4 separate regions of the Homo sapiens genome follow, and regions 1, 2 and 4 are each linked to region 3. The links are contacts of gene promoters, found by promoter capture Hi-C in blood cells and fetal thymus (Javierre and others, 2016). All regions are on one chromosome and are shown on one strand. Each heading gives the region's core, a stretch centred on a gene start or on the middle of the fragment in contact. The rest is flanking DNA. Distances are from core to core; before and after follow the strand shown.

Region 1 (3,126 bases), core at 576-3,075, 180 kb after region 3:
ACTGTAAAACATACAAAATCCAAGATTCATTTATTTCACTGAAAACTTATTTAACTATTATTTTATTGGATAAATTGTTGAACTGGATTAACGATAAAAGGTTAAAGAAGAATGTTGAAAATACCAAGACTTCTGCTTTCAGCCAAGATAGAGTTACAGAGACCAGATTTACTCCTCAGCTAAAAAACCAGGCAAAACAGAAGAAACAACAGTTTTCGGACTTTGGACAACAGGCGAGGCAGGACTGTGATCCCAAAGGGAAGGGAAAACAAGGTGAGTGCTGCAACTGCTCCCTCCACCTTCTTGTCTGGCAGACACCTGCTGAGCCCAGGAGCCAGAGATCCAAGAGCAGGAAGGTCAAGGCAGCTGGAATTTCCAGGGCAGGGCAGAGGGCGTTTCACGGAGCGAGAAAGGGCTCTAGAGACCTTGAAGGGTCTTTGGCTGGGTACTGATCTGTCCGTGTGTGAGAGGAAACTGCGTAAAGCCTAGGAAAGAAACACTACAAACAGTAGGCAGAACAATTTCTGACATGCACAAAGAACAGGAAATAGTTCATACCCCACCAGTCAGAATGGAAAGGCCTTATAATAAAAGAGATATTGGATAGAATCCTTAGAAGAGTGTTACTGTCTTAGCAGTGGGGCTAACTTAGCCCTAAGACTAGAGGTTGCTTTGGGCCCACCCTAACAAAAATCAGCTTTGAAAGAATCCAGCTTAGCCACATGCGGTGGCTCACACCTGTAATCCCAGCACTTTGGGAGGCTGAGGTGGGAGGATCCCTTGAGCCCAGGACCTCAAAACCAGCCTGGGCAACATAACAAGACCCTGTTTCTACAAAAAGAAAAAAAAAAAGAAAACAGAAAAGAAAGTAAACAAATAAATAAATAATCCAACAATTCTCTAGTGGCTTAAGTGTGCACCAGAATGAAATCTAACACTATTTAAAGCAATGCAATATGTCTAACATCCTGTAACATAAAATCTACACCATCCAGCACCCAATCAAGCATGAGAATAAGCAATAAAATATGATCCATGATCAGGAGGGGAAAAAATCAACAGAACAGATTCAGAAGTGAGAGAGATGATGGCGTTGGCAAACAAAGGTTTTTAGAAAAACATGCTCCTACATTTGAGAAAGAAGAGAAAAATAGCATGCTGGGGACAGAGACGGAGAATACAAAAAAGACTCAAATGGATCTTTCTTACAGAGATGGGAAAAATCATTACACAAAGTGAACAATATATTGGATGGGACTAACAGCAGATTAGATTGTAGAAGGATAGATTTGTGAAGTTGAAGAGAGATAGTAATAGACACTGTCTGATTGAAGCCCAGAGAGAAACAAGTGTGGGCTAAAAGTGAACAGAACAGTCAACAGGACAACATCAAGCAGTCCAGGAGAGGTGAGAGGGAAAAACAGAAGAGACCGTTCAAGAAATAATAGCCAAAAGATTTCCAAACTTGATGAAAAATACACACTGATAGCCCCAAGAAGCTTAATGAACTTCATGTAGAGTAAAGAAACCATGCTGGCCGGGTGTGGGGTCCCCCACTGTAATCCCAGCACTTTGGAAGGCCAAGGCAGGAGGCTCCCTCAAGGCCAGGAGTTTGAGACCAGCCTGGGCAACGTAACAAGACTCTGTCTCTACAAAAGATTTAAAAATTAGCCGGGAGCAGTGGCACATGCCTGTAGTCCCAGCTACTCGAGAGGCTGAGGCAGGAGGATCACTTGAGCCCAGGAGGTCAAGGCTGGAGCAAGCAGTGATTGCACCACTGCACTCCAGCCTGTCCAACAGAGCCAGACCCTGTGCAAAAAAGGGTCTGAAAGAAAGAAAGAAACCATGCTAAGGCATATCCCAATTAAAATGCTGAAAAACAGTGACAATGAAAAATTCTTAAAAGAAGCCTCAGAGAAAACACACGTTATCTTCAGAAGAATACAGATAACCGTGACAGCAGATTTTCATCATAAACGACGCAAGCCAAAAGACTATCAACAGCCAGCATCTTTAAAACTGAATGGAAAAAAACCCACAAACTACCAAAAACCTGTCAGCTTGGAATTCTTCACCCAGTGAAATCATGTAATCAATAAAGTTTCATAATTTTCCCAACGGAAGTACTGTAAATCTTTCCACATCTATTTGTGAAGCTTTGTCGATGGTTCCTTCCTTTTAATTAAAAAAATTTTTTCTCATGATGATAGCCTATCATTACCTTAGTTTTCAAAATATCATTTTCTTTCTTCCTTTTTTTTTTTTTTGAGATGGAGTCTCACTCTGTCACCAGGCTGGAATGCAGTGGCGCCACCTCCACTCACTGCAACCTCCGCCTCCCAGGTTCAAGCGGTTCTCCTGCCTCAGCCTCCCAAGTAGCTGGGACTACAGGCATGCGCCATCACACCCAGCGAATTTTTGTATTTTTAGTAGAGATGGGGTTTCACCCTGTTAGCCAGGATGGTCTCGATCTCTTGACTTCATGATCCACCTGCCTCAGCCTCCCAAAGTGCTGGGATTACAGGTGTAAGCCACCAGGCCTGGCCCAAAATACCATTTTCTACACATTTTTTTCCTACAAAGAAATACAATTAATTTTTATAAATTTTCTGTTTTGAACAATTTTGCTAAAACCTCTTATTTTTAATGATTTGTAGATTTGTTTTCTACAGATAGAATTATGTCATTTATGAATAATGACACTATTGTTTTCCCTTTTCCCAAACCTTCTAAGTTTTTCATGCCACGTGTGTCAGTTACCACTTGGTAGCCAGTGCTGTTAATGTTGTCAGAAATGGTGTCAGAGGGCAACCTTGTATTGTTTCCAATCTCAATAGGAAAGCTTTCAACATTTCCCTATTTGGTGTGATCTTTATTGTAGCTGTATTTTTTAATAGAACTTTAGAATGTTAGAATTTAATAGAAGTTTTACATCTACATTCATAAGTGAAATGAAAAGTAATTTTCCTTTCTTATATGATCACTGTTGGGTTTTGGTATCAAGGTTATACTAACCTCATTAGATTAAGGAGCATTAATTCTTTTTCTGTTTCTAGAAAGGTTTATGTAAGACTGAAATTATTTCTTCCTTGAATATTTGTAGAGCTCTCTAGTGAAGGTATCCAG
Region 2 (3,004 bases), core at 382-2,881, 230 kb after region 3:
CTTTTTTTAAGACATGGTCTCACTCTGTCACCCTGGCTGGAGTGCAGTGGCGCAATCATGGCTTGCAGCAGCCTTTACCTCCTGGGCTCAAGCAATCCTCCACCTCAGCCTCCCAGTAGCTAGGACTACAAGCGTATGACACCAAGCCCAGCTAATTTTTAAATTTTTTGTAGAGATGGGGTCTCAGTATGTTGTCCAGGCTGGTCTTGAACTTCTGGCCTCAAGTGATCCTCCTGCCTTGGCCTCCCAAAGGGCTGTGATTACAGGCATGAGCCACTGCACTCGACCTGAACCAGTTGTTACATGGTAAACTGTGACTGGCGCTGTCTGGGTGGGCTGCCCTTTGGCTCTCCTGATTCTTCAGTAAAATCTTGCTTTTGTGATCAGTTTGGCTTAGCTGGGCTGCACTGCAGGCAATGGAAGGGCTGTCCCTGGGGCTGACAAGGAGGTGGTGGCAGGGACTAGCAAGACGCCCATGAGAAGGGGCATTTCAGAGTAAGAGCTAAGGCTGCTACGTCCACCTGTCTCTGTGGACATGGTTCCAAGATGACCTGGCTCAAGAGAAGCAAACAGGTCTCCCAAGATACTCATCATTTGAAGAAAGAAAAAGTAAATGGCCCCGTACTTTTTTTTTTTTTTAATACAGACAGGATCTCACTATGGTGTCCAGGCCAGTCTTGAACTCTTGTCCTCAAATGATCCTCCCACCTCCACCTCCCAAAGTGGTGGGATTATAGGTGTGAGCCACCACGCAAGGCCGACCTCAAGCTTTTTTATCTCCCAGGAACAAACTTCCTTGTTCAACCTGTCAAAAATATATTAAGTGACTCACTATTCTCAAGGAAATGTGAAATAGGTAAGATGACTTAAAAAGCATTAGGGGCCAGGTATGGTGGCTCACATCTATAATCCCAGCACTTTGGGAGGCTAAGGCAGGCGGATCACCTGAAGTCGGGAGTTCAAGACCAGCCTGATCAACATGGAGAAACCTTGTCTCTACTAAAAATATAAAATTAGCCAGGTGTGGTGGCACATGCCTGTAATCCCAGCTACTCAGGAGGCTGAGGCAGGAGAATTGCTTGAACCCAGGAGGCGGAGGTTGCAGTGAGCAGAAATCGTGCCATTGCACTCCAGCCTGTGCAATAAGAGTGAAACTCTGCCCCCTTCACCCCCACAAAAAAAGCATTAAGAAGATGCTCAATATGGACAATCGTTTGGCAGTATCTACTGGTACTAAAGCTGATGGTACATATACCCTATGACCATACACATACCATTCCTCAGTATATACCCACCAGAAATACACAAATATGTACATCAAGGGACACATCGCCAAATGTTCACAGCAGCACTATTCCTAAGAGTCCCAAACTGGAACCAATTAAGTCTCTGTCATCAGTAAAATGAATAACTGAGTGGCACGGTTGTACAGTAAAATATACAGCAATGAGAACAAACCCGCCCCTGCTATACACAATAACTGAAGACTCCCAAACTCCAAATAATGCATATCGTCTAATTAAATGCATGTAAATTTTCAGAACAGGCAAAGCTAATCTCAGGTTATTTTTAAAGATTAAAGCTAATCTTGGCAATGGTTAACTCTGTGGGAAGTAGTGACTAAGAAGAAGGGTGATTTCTAGGGTACAAGTAATTTTTTTTTAATCTGAGTGGTGGCTACTTTTTGAAAATGTATCGAAATGTGCACTTATGATTTACTCACTTCTTGTGCATATTTTATATATCAATAAATAAGTCTACTAAAAACATACCTTCATAAAGAATTTGTGATACTTTATATAAACATACTTTAAAAGGCTTGGCTGGGCGCAATGGCTCACGCCAGTAATCCCAACACTTTGGGAGGATCACCTGAGGTCAGGAGTTCGAGACCATCCTGGCCAACATGATGAAACCCAATCTCTACTAAAAATACAAAAATTTGCTGGGCATGGTGGCGGGCACCTGTAGTCCCAGCTACTTGGGAGGCTGAGGCAGGAGAATCACTTGAACCCAGGAGGCGGAGGTTGCAGTGAACCAAGATTGCACCACTACATTCCAGCCTGGGCGACAGAGCAAGACTCTGTCTCAAAAGAAATAAACAACAACAAAAAATTATATATATATATATATATATATACACACACACACACACACACACACACACACACGCACACTACTACAGTTGTTTACTTAAACTTGTAGTAAAAGAATAAAAACACAAACTTCCAGGATGCACTCCAAATCCAAGAAAAGATGAGTTTCCAAGGAGGGAGTGGGGTTAGGGGACAAGGCAACATCTACCCTAATGGTAACATTTTATTATTTATTATTTTCTACTTTTCACATGTTAAAATTTAAAAATTTTCCTACTACACATGGCTCCTAAAGCCACCCTAACAGACTTGCCTAAAAAAACAAAATATCTGTCCTTCTAGCAAGGAAAGAGTCTCTGTAGGTCACTGTATCTCTTTCTTCCAAGGGAAATATTGTAGTAAGCTTTCCCTCTAGAACAGTGGAGAGATATGACTCTATGTGTAACATCGGTACAAAATAACCAGCCGGCAAGTGTGCGGGTGAGGAGCAGTGGGACTGATTCTGAGCCCTGCAGAGCTCGACAGGAGCACAGTTGTCCATATTGAGCTCTGGGCAGTGTCTGCCTATTCCAGAGCTGCTTGCTATGAGAAGCCTAATTCTATGTGTGAAAGTCTGTATATGTGGGAAAATGATGGTGAGTTCATGAAACAGCCACATAAGGATCCCTCAAAATAAGCTCCTGAAGACCATTTAAAATGTATTTTAGGGCCAGGGGCGTTGGCTTATGCCTGTAATCCCAACACTTTGGGAGCCCGAAGCAAGAGGATTGCTTAAGCCCAGGAGTTCAAGGCCAGTCTGGCTAACATAACAAGACCCTGGCCCTATAGAAAAAAAAAAAAAAAGCCAGTTGTGGTGCCGCGTGCCTAAAGCCCCAGCTACTCGGGAGGCTGAGGTGGGAGGATCACTT
Region 3 (2,838 bases), core at 77-2,576:
TTGGAGTTTTTCTTGCTATTTACTCTTCCTGGTTGGTTTGGCAGAACTGGTTGAGGCAGATTATCGGTGTGGGTGGTGTCAGCTGATCCACTGAGCTGATTCAAGGATTGTTGTCTCATGCCTCCCTAAAATGTAAAAGACCAAGTGAGGCAGGAAAATAGGGTCTGGAGGTAGGGAACATAAGGCCGATTCACGCTTCAGCTATAAGGGGAAATACCCTCTCCATAGGGCATACACCGAGTAAATGACTTCGTAACTTTACTTCACCGTCTTCATTTACATCGGGCGTACCCCAAGCAGAAGGTATTTAAATTCACAGAAATTCTGCCGGGCCTTTGAGTCCCTGTGTTCAGGCCTGCTCCCACACTGTGGAGTGTACTTTTTCAATAAAACCCTTCATTCCTTCCTTGCTTTGTGTGTGCCTTTTGTCAAATTCTTTCTTCAAGACACCAAGAACCTGGACACCCTCCAACTTTAACACAAGCTGTGCCTCGACCACGTCTAGCAAATGTCGTTAGGACTTCCTGTGTCAGGGGCGCCTGTCCTCAACCTTGGCAAAATTTTTTGTTTTGTTTTGTTTTTTGAGACAGAGTCTCACTCTGTCGCCCAGGCTGGGGTGCAGTGGCCTGATCTCAGCTCACTGAAACCTCTGCCTCCCGGGTTCAAGCGATTCTCCTGTCTCAGCCTCCCAAGTAGCTGGGATTAGAGGCGCTCCCCACCATGCCAGGCTAATTTTTCTATTTTTAGTAGAGACGGGGTTTCACCATGTCGAGGATGCTAGTCTCCAACTCCTAACCTTATCAGGTGATCCGCACCCCTCGCCTCCCAAAGCGCTGGGATTACAGGCCTGAGCCACCTCGCTCTGCTGGCCAAATAAACTTTCTAAATGAACTGAGACCTATCTCACATTTTCAGGATTCACAGGCTCTTATCAATTTTGTTTCAGAGTCAAACCATGGACTGAATTCCTTCCCAAGGTTAGTTGGGCTTCCGCCCAGGAATAAACAAGGACAGCTTAAAGGTTAGAGGCAAGATGGAGTTGATTAGGTCTGATTTCTTTCACCATCACAATTTCCTCAGTTACAATTTTGCAAAGGTGGTTTCCAACGGACTCAGCCGCACGCGGCCCCTCTGTCCCTCCGGGGGACAGGCGAGTGTCCCTGGGGCCTGCAGGGCAGTCCTGCTGGCTGCAAAAGAGAGAATCACGCGACCCCTAGCCGGGCCTCCCAGGGCCTCCGCGCGTCAGTCCTCCTGGCCACCGCGTGGCGCTGTGCCTTACGTTGTTGGGCCGTTGGGTGGACCACGTGGTCTCCGACGCCTCAAGGCCTGCTCAGCGTGCGCGGGCATCCGGTGGGTGCGGGAGGCCCGAGGCCAGGCAGGCAGGGATCCCGCAGCGAGGGGCTGGTTACTGCCAGGACGGAGCGCATTGCCTCGAGCCGACCCCGGGGTCCGCGAGGGCTCCTGGGGACGAGGAGTGTGGGGCACCTGCCGCGGGGGGCCCAGGCGCTAAAGGTGGAGGGAAGGAACGCACTCGCGGCGGGGGCCTGGCCGGGGCGGACGCAGCCAGCCTCACCCGCGACGGTAGGGGACTTCCAGGGCGAGGGGGCCCATCTGCCCTCGGGCGCCAGGAGGATGCTCCAGCTCCTGGTGCTGAAGGTGAGCGCCGCCAAGCCAGACCCACGCCAGACCCACGCAGTCCCCCACCCCCACCCCAGCCGCGCACAGCCTCCCACCCCCACCCCAGCTCCGCACAGCTTCCTACACCCACCGCAGCCCCGCACAGCCTCCCACCCCCGACCCCAACCCTACACAGCCCCCACCCCTCCCCCCATCCCAGCCTCCACATCCCTCCACACCCACTCCTCCCAGCCCACGCATCCCCCCCATGTCCACTCCCTCTCAGCCCACACCTACTCCCCACGCCCACTCCTCCCCCAACCCACACATCCTCCCACACCCACTCCCACCCAGCTCCACCCCCACACTCACACATGCCCCCACCCCATCTCACTGCTGCACACTCCATCCCACTCCCACACATCCCAACCCCGTATATCCCATGCCGCCACACCACGCCCCCACTCCCACCCCACTCCCACCCCAACCCATCCCACTCCCAACCCCACACACCCCCAACTCCTACCCTAGCCCCAGCTCCCACCCGTTTCCTTATCGCTGCCCACCCCACAGTCACACCCTCGCCCCTGTCCCCACCCCATCCTTATTCCCACCGCCCCCACTCACACCTCCACCCCAACATTTCATCCCCCCACACTCAGCCCCACACACCCCACCACCACCCCATCTCCACTCCCACCTGCACCCCAGCCGCAGCCCACCCCACCTCCACTCCAACCCCACCCCGCCCTCCCCCACCTGAACCCTCCCTGCGCCCCCACCAGGGGGCACCCCGGGCTGGGAGCTGGGGTAGAACCCGGATGAGCCCGGGTTTCACGGGCCCTGGCGTGCTCCGGGATGCACCTGGAGGAGCGCGGAATTGGTTGCTCCTCCGAATGCTCGATCACCCGGGCCAAGCGACACTGGCGTCCCCAGGGCCCCGCTCTCCGTACTCCACGGGGCCCTTAGGCTCGGCGCCTGGACAGGGTCGGGTGGCCCGGGCAGCCCCAGCCCATGGGTCCGGGCTTCCCTCATGCCCCCAGTCTCTGTTGCCCTATCCGCTCACCGCGTGGGCTCTGCGTGGGCGTTGTTCTAGTCCTCGGGGAAGGGACGCCCGCCTGGACCCTTGCTTTTCCCCCTTGGAGTCCAGTGAGGGCTCATTGGTGAAGGGGAAAGCGTTGCTGGAGGAAGGAGTTGACAGGCCAGAGCAGAGGGGTGGGT
Region 4 (3,307 bases), core at 129-2,628, 150 kb after region 3:
CGCCCAGGAATTTCCCCCAAGCCAAGGGCCTGCCTCTGGCTGAGCAGGTGAGAGCGGCTGAGCCCGTCCCACTCCTCTTTACCAGTGATGGGGCTTCACCACTTGGAATCACAAGCAGGCCTGAGGCAATGCAGGGCCTCGTGTCCTCCCTGCAGCTGCGGCCAAATGCCCATCAGGTTTGGCTGTGGTGCTGTTCACGTAGCCATGTCCTGGCTCATCACAAGGGACACAAAACCTTCCCCTTCGGGGAAACGGAGGGGGACAGGCAACACAAGGCCAGGAAGCTCCGGTCCGCATCCAGGGCTGCCAGGGTCTGGATCTCTCTGGGAGGGAGCAGAGGTTCTCCCGCACTGCGATTGGACCTAGGCTCAGGCGGCAGCCTCAGGGGTCAGCACGAAGCCCTTTCAGATAGGGAAGGAAGCACCTTATGAGACCTTATGAGACAGCCTGGCACAGCATAAGCACTGCATCTGAAGCATCGTAGCTGTTACCTTCAGCCAAAACTCTGGTAGCTTTGCCTTGGGCCAAACTTAACTGCATCCCAGATATCAGATGGAAGCAAAGGTCAGGGATGGAAGGAGCTGGGCCAGTCTCTGGGGGTCAGTTTGGGAGCAGTTTGGGGCAAGCAGACCTGAGAGAGGCACAGGTTTCTCTGAAAGCCGTCTGCAGAGCACAGGGACCCTTGTTGTCCCAGAGGCACGGTCCTGATTTAGAAGTTCGTCACCTCCCATCTTGGGAGGGCCCACCTGTTTACCTGCCTGCCATGCCCAGAGCCCTGAGCAGAGAGGCTAGTGGCAGGTCCTGCCACCCTAGACAGAACCTGCCCACCGGCTTGCTGGGGTCACTCCTCCTAATGTTGCAGCACTCATCATAGTACCTGGCACATCCATGTTTGCAAAACACCACAGAATACCCCCTGGGTCAAAAGTGCTCCTGGCAGGCTGACAGGAGACCACGTGAGGACATCAGGGTGGGGCAGTGGTCCCCCGCTGGGGCCAGACAGCCCTGCAACCTCACCCACTACCCACATGGGCTCAGGCAGCACTGCCAGGATCAGGGTCTGAACCTGCGACGCAGGGCGAGCAACAGGCGCCTCCTCACGGAACACACTGAACTTGCATGTTCCATGAATGTCCGGGACCAGCCCTCTGGTCTTCCTGGGCCTCTTCCAAGTGCCGAGTCTGGAACATCGGGATGTGAGGGTCCTTTGTTAAGTCAGAAACCTCCACTTCAGTTCATTTTGGGTCCACGGTGAGCATTTCTTAAGCCTGTTTCTTAAAGTTGTGTTTTTCACCGCAGTCCCACCCTCTCCCTCCCTTGAATACACAGAAAGTATTCAAGTAATTCTCATAAGCTCTTCCTCATGGAAAATAATACGGATTTCATTTAAAAAGCAAAATTTTCCTCAGTTCTTGAAGACCATTGGTTCATTGTGTATCCAGTGCTTCTGCCATGTGACTGAAGTTTCACCTCCCTGCTGTCAATTTTTTTTTTTTTAGATGGAGCCTCACTCTGTCGCCCAGGCTGGAGTGCAGTGGCACGATCTCAGCTCACTGCAACCTCTGCCTCCTGGGTTCAAGTGATTCTCCTGTCTCAGCCTCCTGAGTAGCTGGGATTACAGGCATCCACCACCATGCCTGGCTAATTTTTGTATTTTTAGTAGAGATGGGGTTTCACCATGTTGGCCAGGTTGGTCTTGAACTCCTGACCTCAAGTGATCCACCTGCCTCGGCCTCCCAAAGCGCAAATCCTACTGTCATTTTTACCATTTTATTTATTTATTTTTGAGACTTGCTGTGTCACCCAGGCTGGAGTGCAGTGTCATGATCTCAGCTCACTGCAACCTCCGCCTCCCAGGTTCAAGCGATTCTCCTCCCTCAGCCTCCCGAGTAGCTGGTACTACATGTGTGACAATATACCCGGCTAATTTTTGTATTTTTAGTAGAGACAGGGTTTCATCATGTTGGCCAGGCTGATCTTGAACTCCTGACCTCAAGTAATCCACCCGCTTCAGCCTCCCAAAGTGCTGGGATTACAGGTGTGAGCCACCACACCCGCCCAACCACTCTATTTCTTAAGTTTCTGCTAAAGACTCTTGACCTTCATTTTCAACCCGTGCTTTTTCCCTTCCGATTGCAAAAATGCTTGCAGTGTGAAGATCTTCACACCATCTACATTTTATCTTATATTTGGTGCACATTTGATTTCAGTTGGGGAGGGTAAAATGCTTCTCTCCACCCTTTTGGGTTCTTTGGTTGGGCTTCGAATTGAGACTAATGGGAGGAAAACTGTTTTAATTATGTGTATATGCAACTGAGTCCCACAAAACAAGAGACTTGAAGAAGGGCCAGATGACTAAACCCTATATAGCATCCTGAGCTATATAAGGATTAGGGGCTTGGGGCTTCTGGGGCAGGTAGGGACTAGTAATGGGATGGTGAGGGGAGGAAATGCATGGCGAATAAAGGTCGTCTTGTTATGCAGATATAAGTCTCTCAGGTAATAAAAGTTGTCTCTTCCTGGTACAGATACTTGTACTAATGTAGATTTCCTTCATGACATACATTTCTTTTGCAAAGGGCAGCTTTTCAGAGCTACACCTGTTGTGTCTGCAGTTTCTCAGAATAACCAGCTCAAAATATTCCAAAGAAGTATAATTTGGGGTGATATATATCTAGTCTCCTACAGTCATATTTTGGGGGTGGTGTGTCCTGAGCCCCAACATTTCCTTCTCCTGTGATGGTTTGTGTCTGAGACAGGGTCTCTTGCTCCCATGCTAGAGTGCAATGGCGTGATCATGGCTCACTCCAGCCTTGACCTCTTGGGCTCAAGTGATCCTCCCATTTCAGCCTCTCAAAGTGCTGAGATTACAGGCGTAAGCCATTGCACCTGGCCTCCTGTGATGGTTTTAAAGACGTCTTTAATCCCATAGTGTCAGTCCATTTCTGCACAGCCTCTGGGCTGCCCAGCTGGGTGCCTTGTTCTCTAATTCACTGTCCTCGTGACAGAGGCAAGGTCTTGGGCAAACATTCAGGCAGAGGCTGAATCTTCCTTTACCGCTGAAAGCTTGTTCCAGACCTGCCTTCAAGTTTTCACCTTCTCCTATTCATTAAGTTCACTCGGTCTTGTATTCCTTCCCACTGCTGCTGACGGTAGCAGTTGGGGATTTGGAGGGGGACCCAAAAGACAGAAATAACTGGCATACTACCACAGATAGAAGAGTTGTTTGTTCCCTTACTACCTGAATTCCAACCAGAAGAACTTGTGATGAGTTAGCGATGTGCAAAGCCTTTCGATGTCAGGGACG

What was found. The method cuts DNA at HindIII sites, captures the fragments that hold promoters and counts their contacts. A CHiCAGO score of 5 or more calls a contact.
Region 1: a contact is called between a fragment that was not itself captured here and the fragment with the promoter of TDRD12 in region 3, in 2 of 17 cell types (non-activated CD4 T cells and naive CD4 T cells). The highest score is 5.8, in non-activated CD4 T cells.
Region 2: a contact is called between a fragment that was not itself captured here and the fragment with the promoter of TDRD12 in region 3, in 1 of 17 cell types (naive CD4 T cells). The highest score is 5.0, in naive CD4 T cells.
Region 4: a fragment that was not itself captured here is called in contact with the fragment with the promoter of TDRD12 in region 3 in 1 of 17 cell types (non-activated CD4 T cells); the score reaches 5.3 in non-activated CD4 T cells.

Annotation. Positions count from the first base shown.
Region 1 is chr19:32,902,344-32,905,469 of GRCh38, forward strand. All of the region lies in intron 14 of CEP89 (centrosomal protein 89), which reads right to left. Among named protein-coding and RNA genes, the nearest start is that of SLC7A9, 34 kb to the left of the region's middle. The HindIII fragment of the contact is 657 bases long and covers 1,498-2,154 here.
Region 2 is chr19:32,949,396-32,952,399 of GRCh38, forward strand. All of the region lies in intron 4 of CEP89 (centrosomal protein 89), which reads right to left. Among named protein-coding and RNA genes, the nearest start is that of CEP89, 21 kb to the right of the region's middle. The HindIII fragment of the contact is 1,731 bases long and covers 767-2,497 here.
Region 3 is chr19:32,718,441-32,721,278 of GRCh38, forward strand. TDRD12 (tudor domain containing 12) reads left to right here and starts at 1,327. Exons shown (of 33, transcript NM_001366102.1): 1 at 1,327-1,656. The coding sequence starts at 1,633. The HindIII fragment of the contact is 20,000 bases long and covers 1-2,838 here.
Region 4 is chr19:32,870,167-32,873,473 of GRCh38, forward strand. No RefSeq gene overlaps it. Among named protein-coding and RNA genes, the nearest start is that of SLC7A9, 2.1 kb to the left of the region's middle. RefSeq lists enhancers at 1-428, 429-951. The HindIII fragment of the contact is 3,371 bases long and covers 1-3,064 here.